Linked DNA regions of Homo sapiens: regions 1, 2 and 3 are each linked to region 4. The links are contacts of gene promoters, found by promoter capture Hi-C in human tissues and cell types (Jung and others, 2019). All regions are on one chromosome and are shown on one strand. Each heading gives the region's core, a stretch centred on a gene start or on the middle of the fragment in contact. The rest is flanking DNA. Distances are from core to core; before and after follow the strand shown. Region 1 has its middle 11 kb from the start of BRD3OS. Region 2 overlaps LOC105376311 (a long non-coding RNA gene). Region 3 holds the start of WDR5 (WD repeat domain 5). Region 4 holds the start of PPP1R26 (protein phosphatase 1 regulatory subunit 26).

What was found. The method cuts DNA at HindIII sites, captures the fragments that hold promoters and counts their contacts. A contact is called where the count stands out against the background at its distance.
Region 1: a contact is called between a fragment that was not itself captured here and the fragment with the promoter of PPP1R26 in region 4, in 1 of the 25 tissues and cell types used here (spleen).
Region 2: a contact is called between a fragment that was not itself captured here and the fragment with the promoter of PPP1R26 in region 4, in 1 of the 25 tissues and cell types used here (lymphoblastoid cells).
Region 3: the fragment with the promoter of WDR5 here is called in contact with the fragment with the promoter of PPP1R26 in region 4 in 1 of the 25 tissues and cell types used here (spleen).

The regions. Positions count from the first base shown.
Region 1 is chr9:134,013,114-134,016,331 of GRCh38, forward strand. No RefSeq gene overlaps it. Among named protein-coding and RNA genes, the nearest start is that of BRD3OS, 11 kb to the right of the region's middle. The HindIII fragment of the contact is 3,578 bases long and covers 1-3,163 here.
Region 2 is chr9:134,446,236-134,449,850 of GRCh38, forward strand. The region is part of intron 1 of LOC105376311 (a long non-coding RNA gene); the gene reads left to right. Among named protein-coding and RNA genes, the nearest start is that of MIR4669, 69 kb to the left of the region's middle. RefSeq lists silencers at 826-1,233, 3,408-3,615. The HindIII fragment of the contact is 7,221 bases long and covers 1-3,615 here.
Region 3 is chr9:134,134,503-134,137,790 of GRCh38, forward strand. It overlaps WDR5 (WD repeat domain 5), which reads left to right and starts at 1,580. Exons shown (of 14, transcript NM_017588.3): 1 at 1,580-1,698. WDR5-DT (WDR5 divergent transcript) reads right to left here and starts at 1,480. Exons shown (of 2, transcript NR_186420.1): 1 at 684-1,480. RefSeq lists enhancers at 621-730, 1,637-2,561 and silencers at 921-1,090, 1,531-1,710. The HindIII fragment of the contact is 22,361 bases long and covers 1-1,586 here.
Region 4 is chr9:135,478,275-135,481,724 of GRCh38, forward strand. It overlaps PPP1R26 (protein phosphatase 1 regulatory subunit 26), which reads left to right and starts at 1,508. Exons shown (of 4, transcript NM_014811.5): 1 at 1,508-1,748. RefSeq lists silencers at 2,030-2,089, 2,100-2,149. The HindIII fragment of the contact is 17,940 bases long and covers 1-3,450 here.

The DNA.
Region 1 (3,218 bases), core at 125-2,624, 1.5 Mb before region 4:
GGACTGCGAAACACCGCGGCCCCGGGACTGCGATACACCGCGGCCCCGGGACTGCGAAACACCGCGGCCCCGGGACTGCGATACACCGCGGCCCCGGGACTGCGAAACACCGCGGCCCCGGGACTGCGATACACCGCGGCCCCGGGACTGTGAAACACCGCGGCCCCGGGACTGTGATACACCGCGGCCCCGGGACTGTGAAACACCGCGGCCCCGGGACTGTGATACACCGCGGCCCCGGGACTGTGAAACACCGCGGCCCCGGGACTGTGATACACCGCGGCCCCGGGACTGTGATACACCGCGGCCCCGGGACTGTGAAACACCGCGGCCCCGGGACTGTGATACACCGCGGCCCCGGGACTGTGAAACACCGCGGCCCCGGGACTGTGAAACACCGAGGCCTCGGGACTGTGATACACTGCGGCCTCGGGACTGTGATACACTGCGGCCTCGGGACAGTGAAACACTGCGGCCTCGGGACTGCGATACACTGCGGCCTCGGGACTGCGATACACTGCGGCCTCGGGACTGCGAAACACCGCGGCCTCGGGACTGCGATACACCGCGGCCCCGGGACTGCGAAACACCGCGGCCCCGGGACTGCGAAACACCGCGGCCCCGGGACTGTGATACACCGCGGCCCCGGGACTGTGATACACCGCGGCCCCGGGACTGTGAAACACCGCGGCCCCGGGACTGTGAAACACCGCGGCCCCGGGACTGTGAAACACCGCGGCCCCGGGACTGTGAAACACCGCGGCCCCGGGACTGTGATACACCGCGGCCCCGGGACTGTGATACACCGCGGCCCCGGGACTGTGATACACCGCGGCCCCGGGACTGTGAAACACCGCGGCCCCGGGACTGTGAAACACCGAGGCCTCGGGACTGTGATACACTGCGGCCTCGGGACTGTGATACACTGCGGCCTCGGGACAGTGAAACACTGCGGCCTCGGGACTGCGATACACTGCGGCCTCGGGACTGCGATACACTGCGGCCTCGGGACAGTGAAACACTGCGGCCTCGGGACTGTGAAACACTGCGGCCTCGGGACTGCGATACACTGCGGCCTCGGGACTGCGATACACTGCGGCCTCGGGACTGCGAAACACTGCGGCCTCGGGACTGCGATACACTGCGGCCTCGGGACTGCGAAACACTGCGGCCTCGGGACTGCGATACACTGCGGCCTCGGGACTGCGAAACACTGCGGCCTCGGGACTGCGATACACTGCGGCCTCGGGACTGTGAAACACTGCGGCCTCGGGACTGTGAAACACTGCGGCCTCGGGACTGTGATACACTGCGGCCTCGGGACTGTGAAACACTGCGGCCTCGGGACTGTGATACACTGCGGCCTCGGGACTGTGATACACTGCGGCCTCGGGACTGTGAAACACTGCGGCCTCGGGACTGTGATACACTGCGGCCTCGGGACTGTGATACACTGTGGCCTCGGGACTGTGATACACTGCGGCCTCGGGACTGTGAAACACTGCGGCCTCGGGACTGGTTGCAGGAACAAGGCTTGTATCAACTCCGTAGATTCCCTTGCCTATTAAGTATGTGTATGTTTGTATCTAGCTATTCCTTTTTTTTTTTCAATTAAGATGGCGGTCTTACTCCCCTCCCCCAAGCTGGAGTGCAGTGGCGCGATCATGGATCACTGCAGCCTCAAACTCCCAGGCTCAATGATCCTCCCACCTCAGCCTCCCAAATAGCTGGGACCACAGGTGTGTGCCACAACACCTGGCTAATTTTGGTTTTTGGTAGAGATGGCACCATGTTGCCCAAGCTGGTCTCAACCTCCTGGATTCAGGTGATGCCCACGTCTTGGCCTCCCAAAGTGCTGGGATTACAGGCCTGAGCCACTGCGCCCAGCCAAAACCTATTCTTAAATTAAGAAAGTTTTTTTCCTTAAGATATCAGGACATCAGGGCATTTCCAGAAGTACTGGGTCTGTTTAGTTAGTAAGCATCATTAACTTGCTCCCTCAACCATAAGAGTGCTTCACCTCCTGGGAATGTGACCCAGCAGGTCTCACTATATTTTTCTCTCATTCAAGATGGAGTCACTCTGGTTTGGACACTTCTGGCAGCTTCATGGGTCCCTCCTCTAAGCATCTAGGTTTTCATCATTCCAACCTCTTCCCTTTGTTCCTTATCCCTAGGGGTGGTGGTAGTTGCTTCCTGCAGGTGCTACTTTAGGATATTTTAGAGTTATTTTTTTTCTTCTGAACTTAACAACTTTGTACTTAGCGAACAATTCCTTGTATTTATTTCTCCCAGTTCAAATGATTGGTGTGGTTTCTCTCTTCCAAACAGACTCTGACTAATATAAGTTCCATATCAATCATATGTATTGCAAATTTCTTCTCACGTTCTGTGGCTTTCCTTTTCACTCTTAAAAGGTATATTTTAATAAGCTTTAAAAATTTTAGAAGAGTTTGTTTTACAGAAAAATTGCAAACATGGTACGGCGTCCATATAAGCCCAATACCAATTTTCTCTATTGTTGATGTCTTACTTTCGTGTGGTCTGTGACAATTAATGAACCAATATTGATACATTATTATTAATTCAAGTGCATACTTTAGTCAGATGTCTATAGTTGGTATCTTTTTTAAATTTAAATAGTGAGGTTTCCATTCATAAAATTTCTCCATTTAAAGTTTTTGTGCCAGCCGGGCACGGTGGCTCATGCCTGTAATCCCAGCACTTTGGGAGGCTGAGGTGGGCGGATCACCTGAGGTTGGGAGTTTGAGACCAGCCTGACCAACGTGGAGAAACCCCGTCTCTACTAAAAATCCAAAATTAGCCGGGCATGGTGGCACATGCCTGTAATCCCAGCTACTCAGGCGGCTGACGCAGGAGAATCACTTGAACCTGGGAGGCGGAGGTTGCAGTGAGCCGAGATCGCACCATTGCACTCCAGCCTGGGCAACAAGAGCAAAACTCTGTCTCAAAAAAATAATAATAGTAAAATAAAATAAAGTATTTGTGAAGTCCTGAATATTCCTAGGTATTTTTTAATTTTTCATTTGTGGGGGTACATAGTAGATACATATACTTATGGGGTATATGAGATGTTTTGACGCAGGCAATGTGGAATAACCACATCGTGGAGAATGGGGCATCCATCCCCATTTCCAGGTATTTGATATATTTTGAAATTATTGTAAATGGTATCTTTTTTTTTTTTGAGACAGAATT
Region 2 (3,615 bases), core at 944-3,443, 1.0 Mb before region 4:
TTTTTTTAAACAGAGTTTTGCTCTGCCACCCAGGCTGGAGTGCAGTGGCACGATCTTGGCTTACCGTAACCTCCACTTCCAGGGTTCAAGTGATTCTCCTGCCTCAGTCTCCTGAGTAGCTGGGATTACAGGCACATGCCACCATGCCCAGCTTTTTTTTTTTTTTTTTTTGTATTGTTAATATAGACAGGATTTCACCATGTTGGTTAGGCTGGTCTTGAACTCCTGACTTCAAATGATCTGCCAGACTTGGCCTCCCAAAGTGCTGGGATTACAGGCGTGAGCCACCACGCCCGGCCCAGTGAAGTGACTTTTGAGGCTGACTGCCCCCCCAACTCCTTCCCCCTCACCCCCTCCTACACTTCTAAGGTTGGGGTGCGAGTCACTTGAGGATCCTGGCCCAGGTGTGGAGGGGGACGCTGCTTCCCACAGTGCTCGCTCACGGCAGGTAACTGTGGAAGAACCGTAGCCCAGGTTCTTCCTGGGGGGCTGGGGGGCTGCTGGATTCCACCTGAGCAGGCCCAACACCCACCTGCCCAGCAGCATCTTCTTTGCACCACTGCACGGCTGCTGAACGCGGCCCTCACGCCCTTCTCACATCTGCCTGGCCCTTACCGGCGTAGCAACGTCCTTCATCTCCAGGGGCTTCATGTTGTCCTCCCAGCAGCTCCGTGAAGGAGGAGGGGCAGGGGTGACAAGCCCAGGTTCACAAAGGAAGCAGGGCTGGAGAGAGACGGGTCTCACAACCTACACAACAGTGTCAGGACTCTCAGGAAGATTGTCTTTGCTGGTCAGCGGTGGCCTTGTTCCCACAGAGTGATCAGAGAGGGGCTTTCCTTAAGGGCTTCAAAGGGAAGCCAGGTGGGCCTGTAGCACTTCCCTGCTCTCCTGCTGCCCGTCCTGGAAGGAGGGAGGCGCTTTTGGGAAGCTTCTCGCTGGGCTCCTCTCGCCCGGCACTCACTGGGGTGCAGCTGTCGGAAGCAGCATGTCCACCCTCCAGCACACACGGCACATTTGCCACCGCAGGCCTGTTCCCTGGTAGCTGTCACAGCTGGGGAAGCTGAGGCTGGTGCATGACCAGCAGTGGTCAGGAGTGCTGCTCTCACCTGGGAGCAGGAGGAACACGTAGAATCTGGAGCAGCACCCTGAGCGAGTCAGGTGCGGAGACTCAGTGCCCTATCACCCAGAGGGAGGAGGATGCGGCTGGTGGGGCACCAGGGTGCTTGGGCCCAGCTGTGGGGCTTCCTCCAGGCTGAGTGGGGTGGCGGTGGGCAGGGGTTTCTCTGGAGTCCTGGCCCTGGACCTGCTGAGCTGGTGATCACTGTTGCACATGCCTGTGACTCGGTTTCCCCTGTTTGGTGTGCCCACTGTCTGTGGGATGGGCATGAGACCATCACAGGGCTGCTTGTGGCAAGTCTGCCTCCACAGTTCAGCTCTTGCATTTCAGTCTGAAAGGTCCCCCAGGCTCAGCCTGTTTGGGAGCAGCCTGTGTGCATTGGGGTAGGGGGAAGCAGAAGTGGGGTCCCAGCTCCCAGACACTGCCCACCTGGAGAAGCCATGGCCTGGCTTCCAGGCCCAGTGCCAGTGAACACGCCAGGAGTTGTGGTTGGACCAGGGCCTCAGCTTGACACCCGGGGAGTATCTCACCCCTCTCTGGTTCAGACTCTTGCTGTTGCATAAAAATCCCCCAAGTTCTTGGTCAGTAAGACCTGGGTTAGTGGCCCCAGGGCCAGGGGACTGAAGTAGGGGAGCTTTCCTAACAGACAGGCAGGGTTTGGGGAAGATTTTTCCTTTGTTGGAGGTTGGATGGGGTGGGGGAGGGGAGCAGGAGGACATGGGCTCTGCAGACCCTCTGTATCTCAGGTAGTGGCCAGGAGCCAAGGGCCCTGCTGGTGGTGCTGGCCTGGAATCCAGTCCTCGGTCTCTTCTGCTCTGCCCCTGCGAGATATAAGTGTGGGCTCTGGAGTCACTCACGTCAGCTCCCTGCTCGCTCACCCAGAGCCTCAGTTTCTGCCCCTGTGGAATGGGGCTAATCCTAGCACCTTGCTTGTGGTGCTGCCTGAGCCAAGACCTGCAGTGGCTCCCCTCTGGCATCACTCCAACACTCAGTGAGGGGCAGCTGGGCGAGACTGAGAGCGAGAGACCTTCCAGGTGCCGGGCTTTGCAGCCTCATTGGCCTTTTCTACTAAGGTCCTTTCTCTGGGTGCCCAGGGACGTGGGTGGCTTGCACAGAAGCCATGACAAGTGTGTGGGTCTACTGAGGACCCAGCTGCAGTGAAGGGCCTGGGAGAACCGGAGGTGCATGTGCTCAGGGAGTCTAACCCAGCTGTGGGGCAGAATGTCACAGGGCTGGTAGTGAGAGTGGAAGGTGGGGTCACCTGGACTGCAGGTGCCTGGGGCCAGCCAACTGCAGACTGTCCAGGGAATAGAGGGCCAAGGTGTCAGTGTCACTGGAGGGCATGTGGTGGCAGGGGGCCCTGGGTGGGGACACGTCAAAAGGGCAGGACCCAGGAATTTTCCAGTAAGTACAAACCTAGTGAACTTTGGGTGCAACAAACAAGCTACTTGAGTTACAAACAATATACTTTAGAGAAAAGCAAACAATTTGCCAAAAAACCCCAAGTGAACTAGGAGCAAATGGAACATGGATTGAGGGGGCCATACAGCCATTTGACCATTCTAGTTGGTAGCAGGGGCTGCTGACAGCACTGTGATGAGAAGGACTCTGAGGCTTTGTCTGGGTGCAGCAGACACAGGCTTGATGGGACTGTCACTGTGCAGCTGTGTTCTTCATTGGGTGAGTTGGAAAGCGAGGGTGTGGGAAGGCAGACAGCTTAAAGGTCCAAGGCCAGCAGACTTTGTTCCACTGTCCTCCTGAATTTGGAATTTGGTGGTTTCTTTCTGTTGGACATGTCACCCCTCTTGGGGCTCTAGAAACTCCACCAGTCCCTGAACACCCACCCTGCCCCACCCCACCCCCGACACATAGGCAGAGACCTTGGTTTTGTTTGGAGAGTTACAACAGCTGATAAAGCTGGGTTGCAATTTTCTGAGTCCCCACTGGGTGGCAACCTCTAATTATTCCAAGTTTTAGGGTTTAGAAAACGAAAATACCTTACTGAAGAAATTCAGTAAAACCTATCTTTGCCGCTGAATTATGTGGATGACAGCACTGAATTTTGTCATGTTCAAGGAAGGAGGCATCTCATGGACCCTTTGTCTTCCCTGCAAGGGGCTCTGTTTCCTTGGCATGCAGGGCAACACTTGATGGGAACTGTGGCAAAAGCAACTTCCCCAGAGGTCAGGATGCTTGTGAAACCTCATCACAACGGAATATCCTCAGCTTGCTCCCCCAGAGAGGCCATGGGAGCTGTATGCAGGGTCAGCCCTACTTGGGTATCTTTAGTATACACAGAGCGAGGGGAAAACATCCTAAGGTGCCTCCATCGGCTCAGGACATAGCGGTCCCTGGTGCCGTGGCTGTCAGCATCCCTATCCACCACCTGAGGGCAGTGTCATCCTGCAGAGTGCACCCGGCAACCAAACTGGTGGCCCCTGCTGACTGGCTAAGCTCTGATGTTTCCCTGGCAACCACCTCCCGGCTCCTCCCTCTCC
Region 3 (3,288 bases), core at 330-2,829, 1.3 Mb before region 4:
GGAGCCGGTGCTAGGTTGGAAGAGGAGGCGGGGTCTGGTAAGCACTTTAGCCGAATTGAGCAGTGGGAATTAGGGAATTGAGGGCAGTGGGAAGCTGGTTCTGAGTTTTAAACTGGGGAGTGACAGATCAGAGCTGGATTTTTAGGAGTTTCTCTGTTTGGAGGTTTAGAAAAGACCCAGGTGGGAGGTAGGGCTGGGGTGGGGAGGGAGAGAAGTGGACGATCTGAGAGCTGAGGTGGGGTGGAAGGAGAGCAGCGTGTCACGGGCTCGGGATTCCGGCCCAGGCGGCCAGGTGGACGGAGATAAAGATGCGCTTCTTCATCCGAACTGGGTTTGCTAACCTGTGACTGTCACCACTCCATGCTCCAGGGCACCTGGCCCAAGGGATCCGGCCTCTTGGGCACACAAATCCATATGGAGCCCTGAAGGACCAGACAGGGACCTTGCCTTCTCTGTGTCCTTCCTGGGAAGGGGACTCCAGACCAACTGCCAGTCTTCCGGTTCCACCTCTCTGACAACCGCTCACCTCACCCTCCTTGGCATTTTTATTTCAAATGCTCTATCCCTTTGTTTGCATGGGTTCCTGTGTCATATTCTGTGTTCCCATTTTTAATTGGAGAATAAGGGACTGTATGTTATTCTACCCACAGGCCTAGCTGAGGGGATAGGGAGGCCATGCCTACCTCCAAGGCTCTAAGAAGTGAAGCAGGCGGCGAGAATGTGCAGTCGTTGAGGCCAGAGGACCGGGCCTCAGCTTCTCCTTAAGCCCCTGAGTCCTCCTCTGGGGACCACCCCCTTGTACCTGGAGGTGAAAATGCCCGCCCAGGAGGGAAGGGCTGGCCCCGGGAGAGCCCGCTGCGAAGTGAGTTTGCGCACTGCGGAGCGGGCGCGGGTGACTCCAGAGCGGCCCTGCCAGTCCGCGGGGCTGGCGGGGAGCAGGTTCGTGCACCGCGGGCTCTGTGCATGCAGAGGCGGGAAGAGCCCCCAGCCCGGCAGCCGGCCCCGCGGGAAGGCGCAGCCCGGGCTTCCGAACCCTGTGAACGCGCAGGTTCCTGGTCTTCCAGATGGGCAGGAATCGTCCTGCCCGCCCGGGGTGGGAGGCCACATGGGGGCACTGCGCCCGGGCGCGGCCCCAGGTGCTTTCCAAATGCCCACTGCCGCTCTCATCCGTACCAGCGATGATCAAGAAGGGGCCTGGTCGCCCGGGGAGGTGCCCCGGCCCGAATCGACTCCGGAGACAACGCCGGGCGACGCCACCTGCGCAGGTCCCGGAGGGCCGCTGGTGTCTGTGTACAGGGCGTGCTGTCTGTGGAAACGCGAGGGCACACTAGCACTTTCCTGTATGTATTATTATACTTCAGTTTTTAGGAAGTGCATTAGAAGGGCCTGCACCAGTCAAATTCGGGGATTAAAGCTTTTAAGCGGGAAGCGCGCGCCCCGTGCTGTCCCTTTAAAGCGTTGGGCCGGCCCGAGGCATTCTGGCCGCTGTCGCTGCCCGTAGCGCTCCTCCGAGAGGCCGGCTTTGTGAGCTCGCCCCGCCCCCCGGACACCGCCCCCTCCCCTCGCGCACGCGCACTGCGCCCCCGCCGCCTGGCGCCCGCCCGAGCTGCCGCCTTGTCGAGCTGAGTCCGCGCTCCCGCCCAGGCGGCGGCCGACGCGACGCCCCGAGCGCCCGGCCCCGCCGCCGCGGCCCGGCAGGTAAGCGGGCAGCCGCCCGGCCCGGGGAACACAAGGCGGGCAGCGGGGCGGCGCCAGAAGCTTCCAAACCGCACCCGGCCGCCGCACGTGTTCCCCGCCGGGCCTCGGGCCAGGCCCAGCCCCGGGCGCTGCTCCCGCTGCAGCGGCCCCGCCCGGGACCCCCGCCCCGGCCCCTCGGTGGACGGCCGCGCGCGCAGTTCCCTCCACCCGGTCCGCCCCCACTCGCGCCCCCACCTCCGCCTCCCCGGCGGACCGCTGACAAGGCCAGAGCGCCGGCACTGGGTCCTCTTTCCCGCAGGCAGCGTGCCCGGCCTCACATCGCCCCTCTCCCTCCACTGCCCCTTCAGGGAAGGACCCCAGACCCACCAAGCCACTCAGTCCCTGGACGAGGTGCGCTTCCCCTCCTCGTAGAAACGCCCCCAGCCCGCTCCCGCCGCTCACCCCAACCCGAGGCAGCCAGGCTGCAGCTCGCTAGGTGGGGTCCTGGGGTGCGGGTCCTCGGTCCTGAACGGTAGGCCCACCGTGCCTCCTCGCGCGGGGCCGCAGACCTGTCCTGGCCGGTCTGCGAGAGCCATTTTGAGCGGTTACGTTCCCGGACCAAACAGAGGTCGGCCTGTTACATCGCTAACGACACTCCCTGCTGTCTCGCTTGCAAGTTTCCACTCACCCCGGTCCGTTTACCCATCTCCTCAAATGCTAGTTTAATCTGTGACCTGGGCAGGTGCTGTCCTAGCCGGTGGGGAAGACAGGAAAGCGAAGGACCCAGGCGGGGAGCCTGTCCAGGATCTCAGATAGGGAGAGCCAGGTCCCCACCTCTGTTGGGCCGGCCACCCGGCTGGTGTTTAAGATGCAGATTAATTCCTGTCTTTGCACACAGTATGCTTTTCTGACTGCATGTCACAGGCAGATTCCTGGGCTCCACCTCAGGGACTGAGGGACTCAGGAATCGGCCTGTGGCATGCAGTCCAGGAGGGCACACTGAGGTTTGGTTGCTCGGCTTCAGGTGGTCAGGCTTACCTGGATGAAAAGCAGTGGCTGCTAGGAGGAGCCAGGCAGCATCTGGTCTAGGGGCCGCCAATTCATCACCGTTCCCGTAACCTTGGCCCCCGCTTTCCTCAAGATCAAGTCTCCAACCTTCCTGTTCTCTCAAAAGGATTGTTCCACAGAGACACCTGAGTGTTCATGAAAATGCCAAGCCTTGGCCCGGCGCGGTGGCTCACGCCTGTAATCCTAGCACTTTGGGAGGCTGAGGCGGGCGGATTGCCTGAGGTCAGGAGTTCGAGACTAGCCTGGGCAACATGGCGAAACTCCGTCTCTACTAAAAATACAAAAGATTGGCCGGGCGTAGTGGTACGCGCCTGTAATCCCGGCTAAACTGGAGGCTGAGGCGCAAGAATTACTTGAACCCGGAAGGTGGAGGTTGTAGTGAGCCCAGATCGTGCACCTGGACTCTTTGGACTGTGTCTCAAAAAAAAAACAAAAACAAAAAAAAAACACGCCAAGCCTAGACCCCACCGACGTAGAAACTTGGTGGGTGTGTTGGGTCAAGAAATTGCATTCCCCGCCACCCCCCGACGGAGTTTCACTGTT
Region 4 (3,450 bases), core at 258-2,757:
AAGTGATGAAAAGGGCTGTTTCGCCTATCAGACTGCCAAAGACATAACGCAATGACATATCTCAGGGCTGGCAAGAGGACAGGCAAGCGGGCATGCCCGCTCACCAGTGGGTGGACGGCAGGCTGGCCCCGCATTTCTGGAGGGCATTTTGGCAAAATGCAGCATAGTCTTTGGCCCGCCGGCCTCTTCTAGGGATTTGCCCGCAGGAAATGCTCAGAGCCGCTCTAAGGAGGCATCATGAAAGCTGTTCACCACAGCACTGTTTTAAAAACTGTGAAGCAGCATGCCAAAACCTTAACAGCCCATGTCTCTGGGAAGTCACCTTATTAATTAGATCATCTCCCCAAAGTTTGGTAATGAAAGAGTATTATTTCATGAGAAAAAAAAAATTGCTTTTTGAAAAAATTCACGAAGGCATTAAAACAATTCTTTAATGGGTTTCCTGACCCAAAACTGGCCCTCCAGCTTCCCAGGCTGGCATGACTAGAAGCACCCCTCCAAGGCAAGTCTCTGATTTTGATCCTATCAAATCTCTGACACTTTCTAGACAGGAACCGAACCCACAAATTCATCTCCCAGACACGTGTGGATCAGGGCCCAGGGGGCTTACAGAAGCAGCGCGGTGCCCCTGCGCACCATCTGCCCCTTCCACGAGTGGGCGCTGAGGGAGGATCCAGTCGGGTCTGCCCGTTCCCCGCCGCCCGGGGATGCTGAGCACACCCGGGCCACCGCCAGCCTCGGGCACACACCCTGGACCTTTTATAAAACAAAACTGGGAAGACTTTCAAGGTCACATGGTCAGTGCACAGCAGAAGCAGAAACAGCAGCGGCCTCAAGGTCCGGGGCAGTTCCTAGAAACTGTTCCCTCCCCCGAACCTGGCGGCAGGTGTGCTCGAGGAGCCGCCGCCCCGGGCAGGTCGTGCGTCCACTCCCCGCCGCAAGCTCGGGTGGGGCAGCCGCGGGGACACGCGGGGGCCGCCCCCGACCCCGGCCCAAGGCTGTGGGGCTGGAGGGGCGGGCGGGCCGGTCTCAGCCCGGAGCCCCGCGTGAACTTCGGGGAGGAACTCGGTTGGCGCCGGGGCCCCGCACGCTCCCTTCCCGCGGCTCCGAGCGCTTTCCCACGGCCACGCCCCCCGCGCCCAGAACTTCCCGGCGACCCCGCGCCCCCTGCGCGCCCCCCGGAGGTGGCCGCGGTACGGGAGGCGGGCAGCACGGGGCTCGGCCCGGCCCAAGCGCCTTCGCCCCGCACCCCGCGGAGGGGGCCGCGTCCGAACCGGGCGGGGCGGGGCGGGGGCGTCCCCGGGGCGCGGGCGCGGCGGCAGGTGGGCGCGCTCTCGCGGGCGGGGGTCCGGCCGGGCCGCGCGCCTCCCCCGGAACTCGGCCGTGCCATTCCCATGATGCCCAGCCACGGGCACGGCTTCCGGAGTGCGGCCGCCGCCGCCACCGTCCGGTAGGTCGCGGGGAGGGGGCGGCTTGGGGGGGTCGCCCCGCCCCCCGCCCCGCCCCTCCCCTCCCGCGCTTCCCACGGCGCGGCCCGGGCGCGGGGCGGCGGCAGCGGCGGCGCGCGGGGAGGCGGGGAGGCGGGGGGCCCGGCCGGACGCCCCTGCGCCCCCTCCCCGCGCCCCGGCCGAGGGCGGAGCGCGCTGGCCCTGCAGCCTCCGGCCCGCCCCCGGCCCGCCGCCTCCCCCGGGACGTGGGACGCGGGCGCAGGCGGGGTCCGCGCGGCGGGCGGCGGGGGACGGGCGGAGGTGAGCGGGTGCAGGGCCGGGGCCGGGGGGCTCGGGGGCTGGGAAGCTGGGGGGTCGGGGACAGGAGGGCCAGCCAGGCCGGGGCCGGCGCGCCGTGCAGGCCGCGGCGGGCGGGCGGCGGGGGCTCCCCGAGGCAGGCGGACGGGGATCGGCGCCGGGGCTGCTCCGTTCCCCGGGCGGGGATCCTGTCTCTGGCCTCCGTGCGACTCTCGGCCCGCGCGCCCCGCGCTCCTGGAGCCCCAGGTGAGGCGCAGGTGAGGGCCCGCGGTGGGGAGCTTTGGCCCGGCCCGGGGCGGCCGCTGCCCTCCGAGAATGGCCGCGGCCCGGCCGGCCTGGAGACTGCGGTTCACGCCCTGCGCCAGGCGGAGCTTCCGGGAGGGTGGCCGCTCTCCCGGGCCCCAAGCTCGCTAGTCCTCGGATCCCAGAAACATAACTCCGGGGGTGCAGACCTGCTTGGAGGCCCGGCCTCTTCCCTGGGAGGCGTTCACTCCCGCCGGGCCGAGGACCAGGTCGCCGATCCCAGCGGCTAGGGTGAGCGCGCCCTCGGGGAGGGGAGCTCCCTTGGGGGACCCTGCCCAGCCCGCAGGCCGTGAGTAGCCCAAGCTTGGGAGTCAGGGGAGGTCGGGCCGGGGCAGCCGGGAGGGGCTCACCTTGCCTTCAGTTCCCAAGCACAGGAAATGGCGGTGCAGCTTTGCTGGGGGACGCTTGTAGTGAGGTTGTAAAATTGCAGCTTCTGGAAGGCTGGGAGCTGAATTCTAGCCCACGCCCACTTCTGGGTGGCTGGAGCGGGTCCTCCTGCTGCCCCGCCCGCTCCTGCACCGGGGCTCCTCTCCCTGGCCTGCAGACCCTGGCCTCCCTACCCTGGGGGGAAACCCCACCTGGGAGGTAAGACCGCTGGCTGAGCTGCTTTTCGGCCAACCGAGAAATGTAGAGTATTTGGGGGCGTTTCTCACAGGTGGGCAGACTGTTAGGATGGCGAGGGCCCAGTGTGGGTGCTTTGGTTCTCTCCAGAAGGTTGATGTCTGGACCGAGAAGGTACCCGAGTGTTCTCCACCGCTTCCTAAAATCTGACACCGTGTGGCCTTGGGGTGCAGGTGCTGGGTGTCCCCACAGCCACCCTCAAGACCGTATCCTGAGGCAGCAATTTGACAAAGCCTGCACCTCTGGCTTGGGCCCACACCTATCTCTAAGGACTGATTAGGGGGCTTTTCTTGTTTTTTTTTTTTTTTTTTTTTTAGAGCCAGAGTCTCGCTTTGTCGCCCAGGCTGGAGTGCAATGGCTGATCTCGGCTCACTGTAATCTCCGCCTCCCTGGTTCAAGCGATTCTCGTGCCTCAGCCCCTGGAGTAGCTGGAACTACAGACGTGGGCTCCCACGCCCAGCTAATTTATGTGTTTTTAGTAGAGATGGGGTTTCGCCATGTTGGCCAGGCTGGTCTCGAACTCCTGGCCTCAAGTGATCCACCTGCCTCCACCTCCCAGAGTGCTGGGATTACAGGTGTGAGCCACTATCCCCGACCCAGGGGGCTTTTCAAGAATGATTCATCTCGCATAATGTTTTAAAGCCACAAGCTGTCCTGGGGAGACGACCCCCCTCGATTTTTTTTTTTCTTTCTGAGATGGAGTCTCGTTCTGTCTCCTAGGCTGGAGTGCAGTGGCGCGATCTCGGCTCACTGCAACCTCTGCCTCCTGGGTTCAAGCAAT